Linked DNA regions of Homo sapiens: region 2 is linked to region 1. The links are contacts of gene promoters, found by promoter capture Hi-C in human tissues and cell types (Jung and others, 2019). All regions are on one chromosome and are shown on one strand. Each heading gives the region's core, a stretch centred on a gene start or on the middle of the fragment in contact. The rest is flanking DNA. Distances are from core to core; before and after follow the strand shown.

Evidence for each region. Contacts are between HindIII fragments. The study calls those that stand out against the background at their distance.
Region 2: a contact is called between a fragment that was not itself captured here and the fragment with the promoter of CASQ1 in region 1, in 5 of the 25 tissues and cell types used here (IMR-90 fibroblasts, adrenal gland, aorta and 2 more).

The regions. Positions count from the first base shown.
Region 1 is chr1:160,188,540-160,192,163 of GRCh38, forward strand. It overlaps CASQ1 (calsequestrin 1), which reads left to right and starts at 2,036. Exons shown (of 11, transcript NM_001231.5): 1 at 2,036-2,491. The coding sequence starts at 2,213. The HindIII fragment of the contact is 26,832 bases long and covers 1-3,624 here.
Region 2 is chr1:160,062,369-160,065,992 of GRCh38, forward strand. The region is part of intron 1 of KCNJ10 (potassium inwardly rectifying channel subfamily J member 10); the gene reads right to left. Among named protein-coding and RNA genes, the nearest start is that of KCNJ10, 6.0 kb to the right of the region's middle. The HindIII fragment of the contact is 5,791 bases long and covers 1-3,624 here.

The DNA.
Region 1 (3,624 bases), core at 786-3,285:
TGGCTGAGGCTTCTCAAGTCCAAGGGCCTGAAGGGAAGGAGACTGAGTAGAAAGTAGACAGAGTGAAGCATCAAGAGAGAGCAGTGGGGGCGGGCGCTGGAAAGGGGAAGGGTGGGACTGGAGCCAGAGAGGGCAACGAGAGGGAACGGGATGGATGGCAATGTCCGGTAGCTGTAGGAAAGGACCAGGAGATGGAACAGACTCGCCACCAGAGTCCCATCTCATACTCTTGGGGGTACAAAAGGTCAGATTCAAGATGGAACAAGTTTTATGCTCCAGCGTCTCTGTCCCAGTGTCTCCCGCCTCCCCTGGAATGCAGAAGTGAGAAATCAGGGCTGGACATCACCTAGATCATCTGCTTCTGGGCAGGCCTCCCCATCTCACCTGGCTGCCTTTGCTCTGGCCTTGGGGCTTTCCCACGTTAGCCACTCTTCAGGGAGACCAGGATATGGGCTTCTGAGGTCTCTTCAGCTCCAACGTGCTGTGCTTAGGCTAGCTCCAACCTCTCCTGCTACAGTGACAGCTGTCCCTCTTGGCCTCACTCCTGCCATGCTTTTGAGATTTTCTGTGGCCTTCCGTGTTCAGCTGTGTAAGGTCCACCACACAGACATGTGGAAAAGTTATTCTGCTAACATAATTACATGACCCTCCCTGGATGCAAAACAAAACAAAAAAAACACCACTGTCCCTCTAGAATCAGAGATACCTCAGGGTGCAGTGGCAGCATGTGACTTTGATCTGACCCTCTATGGTCTCCCTCATGCCTCAGTTTACCTGTGCATAGTAAGAACCCTGGAGGGCCATGAAGAGGATCCTTCCTTCCTACGTATCCAGAGTTAAACTCACTACTCTGTCCTCACCCCCCAAGCTGGATCCAGAAGTTTAAGCCCCTACCCGCCCATCTCTGCTTTGGATCTCGGGTGCACAGAATTAATCATCAGTCTTGGTTCAGGGCACAGGGTTCACCTCTTCATGCTTGCCTAATGTTAATTTTTTTTTGCCCTGGTGTCAATACCTGATCCTCTTTGTCTTGTCAAAGACATGGGAATAAATAGTAGCTATTCACTCTCCTTGGAAGCATGCAGCCTGGGAAAACCTCCCTTCCCACTGTGCCCCAGAAAACCGAGTCCCATAGGATCAGGGTAGGGAGTGCACACACAGGTGGCAACCAAAGGACAGACCCCTTCTCATTGTGGGCTTTATAGGCAGAGAAACCCCAAACCCACATCTCTACAGGACAGGATCTGGGCCAGCCCTGTCCTTCCCTGCATTCCCAAGTTAGGAGTGCTGAGTGAAGCAAAGGAAACTGGCTGGAGCTGAGCCAGGTTGCCAGTCTTGGACGCGGCTCCATCTTTTATTCAGAGAATGACCTCATCCTTGGTCCTGGTTCTTTAAAAGAAAGTGGAGGGGGTCTCTTTCCTGCAGCCTGGCTTGCACTTTTATCGCCCCACTCTCCTACATAGTATCAAAGAATCAGAATCAGACTTCACCTACAGAAGATTCCCAGGCTTTAGGACATAGAGCCAATACCACATTTGTCCCCCTTTTGTCCTATATTATCAATTTAGCCTCTGACCCAGTTAGCTCCTCCTCTCCACTGCATTTAACTTCTAATTACCCTTGCCCCACCCTCGGCCCACCCTAATTACCCTTATACCTCCCCTCCCCCAGCCCCAGCTTCATTTACCTCCGACTCATCTGGTCTTATTTTTAGCTCCGGCATCTCTCCTTTTCCTTTCTTAATATGGCGATGAGCTCTTAGGCCAGTGTGGGGACCGGGGCTGAGGTGCCCTGGACACTGGAGGAGGGGGAGGGAAGGAGCCCCTGGGAGCCTGGGGTAGAAGTGTAGGAGGTGGGAGGATTCCGGCCCGCATGGAGCTGTCCTGGCCTCAGAAGGTTATCCGTCTCTCCTGCCAACCATGGAGACATATTTAGACAGGACCAGGTGGGGACTGAGGGGTGCCAATTTCAGGGGGCAGCTCCGGTTCCCTCCCCGCCCCCTGCTCCTATTCCTCCACCTGACCCTTTTTCCCTTGGCTCTGTCGGCAGTTTCTCCAGGACCCAGCAGTGCCCTCTGTCCACTGCTCTGGGCCATTCCCCAATCCCCCCTCCCACTTGAGCCCCTAACTCAGAATCTGGGACCCAGGGGCCCCTCCCTACCCCAGCTAACCTCTTCTGGACCAGGAGAGCCAACCCAGATCCCACTACCTCCATGAGTGCTACAGACAGGATGGGGCCCAGAGCTGTGCCGGGTCTGCGGCTGGCACTGCTGTTGCTGCTGGTGCTAGGGACACCCAAGTCAGGGGTACAGGGGCAGGAAGGGCTGGACTTCCCTGAGTACGATGGTGTGGACCGTGTGATCAATGTCAATGCAAAGAACTACAAGAATGTGTTCAAGAAGTATGAGGTGCTGGCACTCCTCTACCATGAACCCCCCGAGGATGACAAGGCCTCACAAAGACAATTTGAGATGGAGGAGCTGATCCTGGAGGTGAGTTGGGGGCACTGCAGGCCTGCAGAGCATGTCTAGCCCCTCTCCGGAATCCCCTATCCTACACCCATGTAGCTCTTTGAGGATGGGATCTGGGGGTGAGGGGCAGTGTGGTAGGAACCCTGTCCTGACCAACAGGATGCAAGTGGCATGTGGCTTTAGTCAAATGAGAAACAGAGTCTCAGGAACCCAAAAGTACTATCAGCGTCAGGAAACCTTTAGCAGGGGTGCTGCAGGAAGAGCTCCCCTCCCTGCTATAGGAGGCTGGTAGTATTTGACTTAGGTTTGGCTAGGACACTGAGGGTGAAAAAGGGAGGTACTTGGAGGGCCAGGGGAGAACAGCAGTGTATATTGCACTCCCCTACCCCACCCATCTGCTTAGCCAGAACACGTCCTCTCCACATACTTCAGGGGCTGCACCCCAAAGAGATCCAAACTGAGTGTAAATGTAAATGTTATGATACTTGCATGCCATGTTTAAATATCTCCTAGAGATCATGCCTCCCATTGGACTCCCAGTCCCCTCTCTCTTCCTTCCCCCTCCCTAATTCCCCATTTGTCTCCATTGGATAAGCTGGATGCCCTCACTGGAAAATTCTTATGGTTGCAGGAGGTGTCAGAATGTCTTCCCCAATCTTCTTTTTGTGGGAAAAGTCTCCTCACCTCCAAAATGACTTCAGGCCCAAAGGAGAAAGAAGTTATCATAAGAAAAGAAAAAAAACCTATGTTTGGGAATGTGTTCATACACACACACCTTTAGGAAATGGGATGTGAGTTTTCTTGTCCAAGCTCCTGTGGCCCCTTCTCTGGCCTCAGCTTGTCCAGAGCTTGGAGCATTTCAGGGTGAGACACCAGAACCACAGGCTCTCATTTTGTGCACCCCTGCTGGGTGCTAGAACCTGCCATCTGATTAATGAGCCGAGTATTTTTATCCTGAGTGCTCAGTATCCCTGGCCATCCACCTGCCAACCGCCTCCCTTCCCCACCCCTCTGAGAATCACAGTACCTGAGTCTGTGCTGAGTGGGGGTAGAGCTGCAAGCTGTGCCCACAGCAGAGAAAATCAGGGTTGAACGCTAAGCTGGAAGGCTTATGGGGGCAGGGACCTCCAGGTGTGACTGTCCACAGCCTAAGG
Region 2 (3,624 bases), core at 736-3,235, 130 kb before region 1:
AAAGGGGCTTTGACAATGGGCAGGACATTAGTATGCAGAGCCAGCCCCTCAGCCCTCTCCCTGTCCCACAGCCGAGGGGCGGGAGCTGGGGGACTGCTGGTAGAGGGTGAGGGGGGCCCAGGACTGAGACTAAGGAGATCTTGGCCCACAGGGGCTCCCCTGGGGGCACTGCCCAGGAGACAGGGGAGGAGACTAGACTAGGGCCTCCAAACCTGCCACTCGCCAGAAAGGACTTTCCAAATGGAAAAAGCCACGGGGACTGGTAGGAGTGGAGCGGGAGGGGCTGCGGGATGCCAAGCCCCTTGGTCCCAGGCTGGGCTCTAGAAAGAAGTGGGTGGGCAGTCTAAGTCCTCCCACGTTTTGCCTCAGTTTTACCATCTATGCAAAGGAATTTTGTGGGCAGGAGAAGAAAAACAGAGTAATACATAGCAAGTTCCCCAACCCCAGCAGGAAGGGCATGTGCTCAGGGTTTGGGGTCTTTGGGGTTCTACTTCCTTGGGGTGCCACCTTCTTTGAGATCTCCACCTGCTCTGGTTCTGGAGGCTGAAGAAGCTACTACAGGGGAAGCAGGGGTTAGGGACAAGAGTCGCCTGCCACCTGTGCTCTTCCAGGGAATTCAACCTGAACTAGTGAAGGTGGAGCTGGAAGCCCAGCTCAGGGGAATTTGACTGAAGGGCCAATGAGCCAGGACTAGCTCTTCCCAGTATATGTCTAACTCCCCATCTGCCTCCTCCTGTTCTACAATCTGTGAGGAGAAGCTTCCCTTCTCCTGCCCAGGGAACCCCAGCAGGCACCCCTATCCTCATTAATGCCCTCAGCACCACCAACTGGCTTTTCCAAGGCACCATGTTGTGCCTTGTGGTGCCTCAGCACAAAGGGCAGGGCCAGAAGGCATGATCTGGGGAGGGGCTCCTGGGCCTTGGGTGGTGGGAGAGCTGAGAGGAGGGCAGTGAGCGGGACTGAGCACCTCATGAGAAGCAGGGTTGCCCAATCACAGACTTCCTACGAGCCCCAGGAAGAGAAGGCCGGGGACACTTTGCAGAACTGCTCCCCACACGGCAAGACAGAACAATCTCTGGGCTTGAAAATGTCTTCCTAGCTTTCTTTCTCCTCTTTTCAGTTGCTGTCAGTATCGGAAGTTCTCCCTGCTGTCTGCCCTCAAGGCTTCCCACTGTACTGCCCTGGCCCTGGGCTCACCTGAGATTGCTGGGGAAAAGAAAGGTAAAGTCTGCTTCTTTCCCCGTCTTAGGACCTTGCTCCTCCACTCTCCACAAAAAAATTCTGGCGGGGAGAGCAGAGATGGAGCTAGGCCTTAGAACTCCTGGGTTCGGGGCCCAACAACCCTGTCAACTCTCTCTGGGAACTTGCACAGGTCACTTTCCCTCTCTGGGCCGAGCTCCTATGTGTAGCATTGGATGGATCTCCTCTGCAGCTCCCTGCCTTCGGGACAATGCGCAGTGGATTCAGGGGCAAGGCTCCGGAATTTAATGAGAGCTCACATCATTGAGCTCTACGCTGAGCCCTTTCCTATTATGTCATTTAATTCTCAACAACTCTAAAGGTGGGTGCTTTTTAAAGTCCCATTTTATAGATGAGAAAACTGAAGCACAGAGATATTAATAATTTGCCCATGGCCACATAGCTAGTGAGTAGTAGAACAGAGGCAGAACTTAACATGATGAACCACTACCCCATACTACCTCCCTGGTGAGAACATTCAAAAGACCATGGCAGCTGAAGGAAATCAACGAGGATATTCAAATTGGCCCAGGTTTTTGAAACTGTCTTCTAAGGTTCCTCTAGACTAGCAGTTCTCAAAGTATGGTCCCTGGACCCTTTCGGAGGGTTCCTGAGACCCTTTCGGAGGCTCTACAAAGTCAAACCTATCTTCATAATAATGCTAACAATACATTATTTGCCCTTTTCACTTTCATTATTTCACAGTGTTCAGTAGAGTTTTCCAGAAGGTACATGACCTATGATATTGCAACACACTAAATGCAGAAGCAGATGAGAAAGCAACTGTCTTTGATTAAGCCAGATGTTTAAAAAGACTTGTGAAAATATAAGACAATGTCACTCTTCTTATTAACTTTTTGTTTACTTTAATACAGCTGTTTTTCATTAAAAATACGTCATTTTGTTAACATGCAAAAATTAATAATTATTTCATGTGTCCCAGTGTTCATTTCTAACACAGTAAATGTTCATAGATAGAACCCACACAAACCAAAGCTCTTTGGAGTCTTCAGTAACTTTTTAGAATGTAAAGTGGTCCTGAGGTCAAAAAGTTTAAAAACCAGTGCTCTAGACTCTAATACACTCACCCTCTCCTCTTACCAGTTGCCTATATCTTTTTTATCACAGGGTCAACCGGGAGGTTTAGACACGTGGAGAAGGAGTGTGCCTGGCTCTACCAGTTGGAACTGGGATCAGAAGTGGAGCTGAGGAGGCTGGTCCAGGGAGAATGCAGTGCTAAGAGGTCAGACCTATACCCCACTTGGGAGGTGACCTCACATGTCTGCCACCTTGCAAGCCCCTGCTCAGAGGTATGCTCAGGACAATGGGGCTGCCTCAGACTAGACTCTGACCTTTATCCCCCTTTTTCATTCCAGACGATGCTGCTGACAAGCCCGGCCTCAGGCTGGAGTCAGACTGCCCTGGTGAGGGGAGAAAGGCTCTCTGGGGCCTACATACCTGCATTTGTGTTGGGGGGGTGGGTGGAGCAACAATGCTTAGAAGACTATAAATTGGGGGTTCTAGGGCTTGTAATCTTAGGGTGAAGCCATGTCTACAGGATGGGGTCGTTAGTAGGAGAGGGGTTTCTCTTGAGATCTCCTATAGAATTAGATAATAGGATCCTATACACACCCTGCTGCAGGATGCTCACATAAACCTCCAAAGTCAGGCTCCTTCCCCAAGAATAAGCGATCAGAAATGTTTCCTACCTAGAGTCAAACTGGACAGTAGCTACTCTGTGTCTTAGGAGGCAGGCCCTTTGCTGGGTGCCAGAGGGTCCAGAGAGAGAAGAGATGCCTTTGCCAATCTGACGGAGGTACAGGCCTCACCCTAGAGGAAACCCCCGGCTAATGAGGGAGACAAGTCTCCTCCAACATCGCCATGCATGGAGAACCCTGGGCCAAGTTGCAGATGCAAGTAACAAGCAAGATGGCAGAGCAGAGAGGGAAACAGGAGAATAGAGATCTGCGGGAGGGGTGAGACTTGGAATGGCCTTTGTGAGGGTCCAGAGTGTGGGGAGGAGCATGGCTCAGAGACTGCCTGGGATATGCTCCCCAGGATCAGGGTCTGAAGAGTGCAGTTCCACAAGATATGGGGCTGGAGGGGATGGGAGAAAGGCATAAAGTCTCTTGAAGCCTGTGATTGGGAAATTTTTATCCAATGCCAACAGATGTGTCTGGGTAGAGAAAGGGCAAGATAAAACTGATGCTTCATGATGACAATTCCAGTGATAATTTCATTATAGGGTAACAGGGAAGGAGTCGAGGAGAGAGGGGGCTGGAGTCAGGGAGGTCATTAAGGAGGCTGCTGTGGGCATCCAGGCTGATGGGATGAACAAGCCAATCAGGAGACACAAGAAGAGAAGGGCATATAAACCTGAGAGAA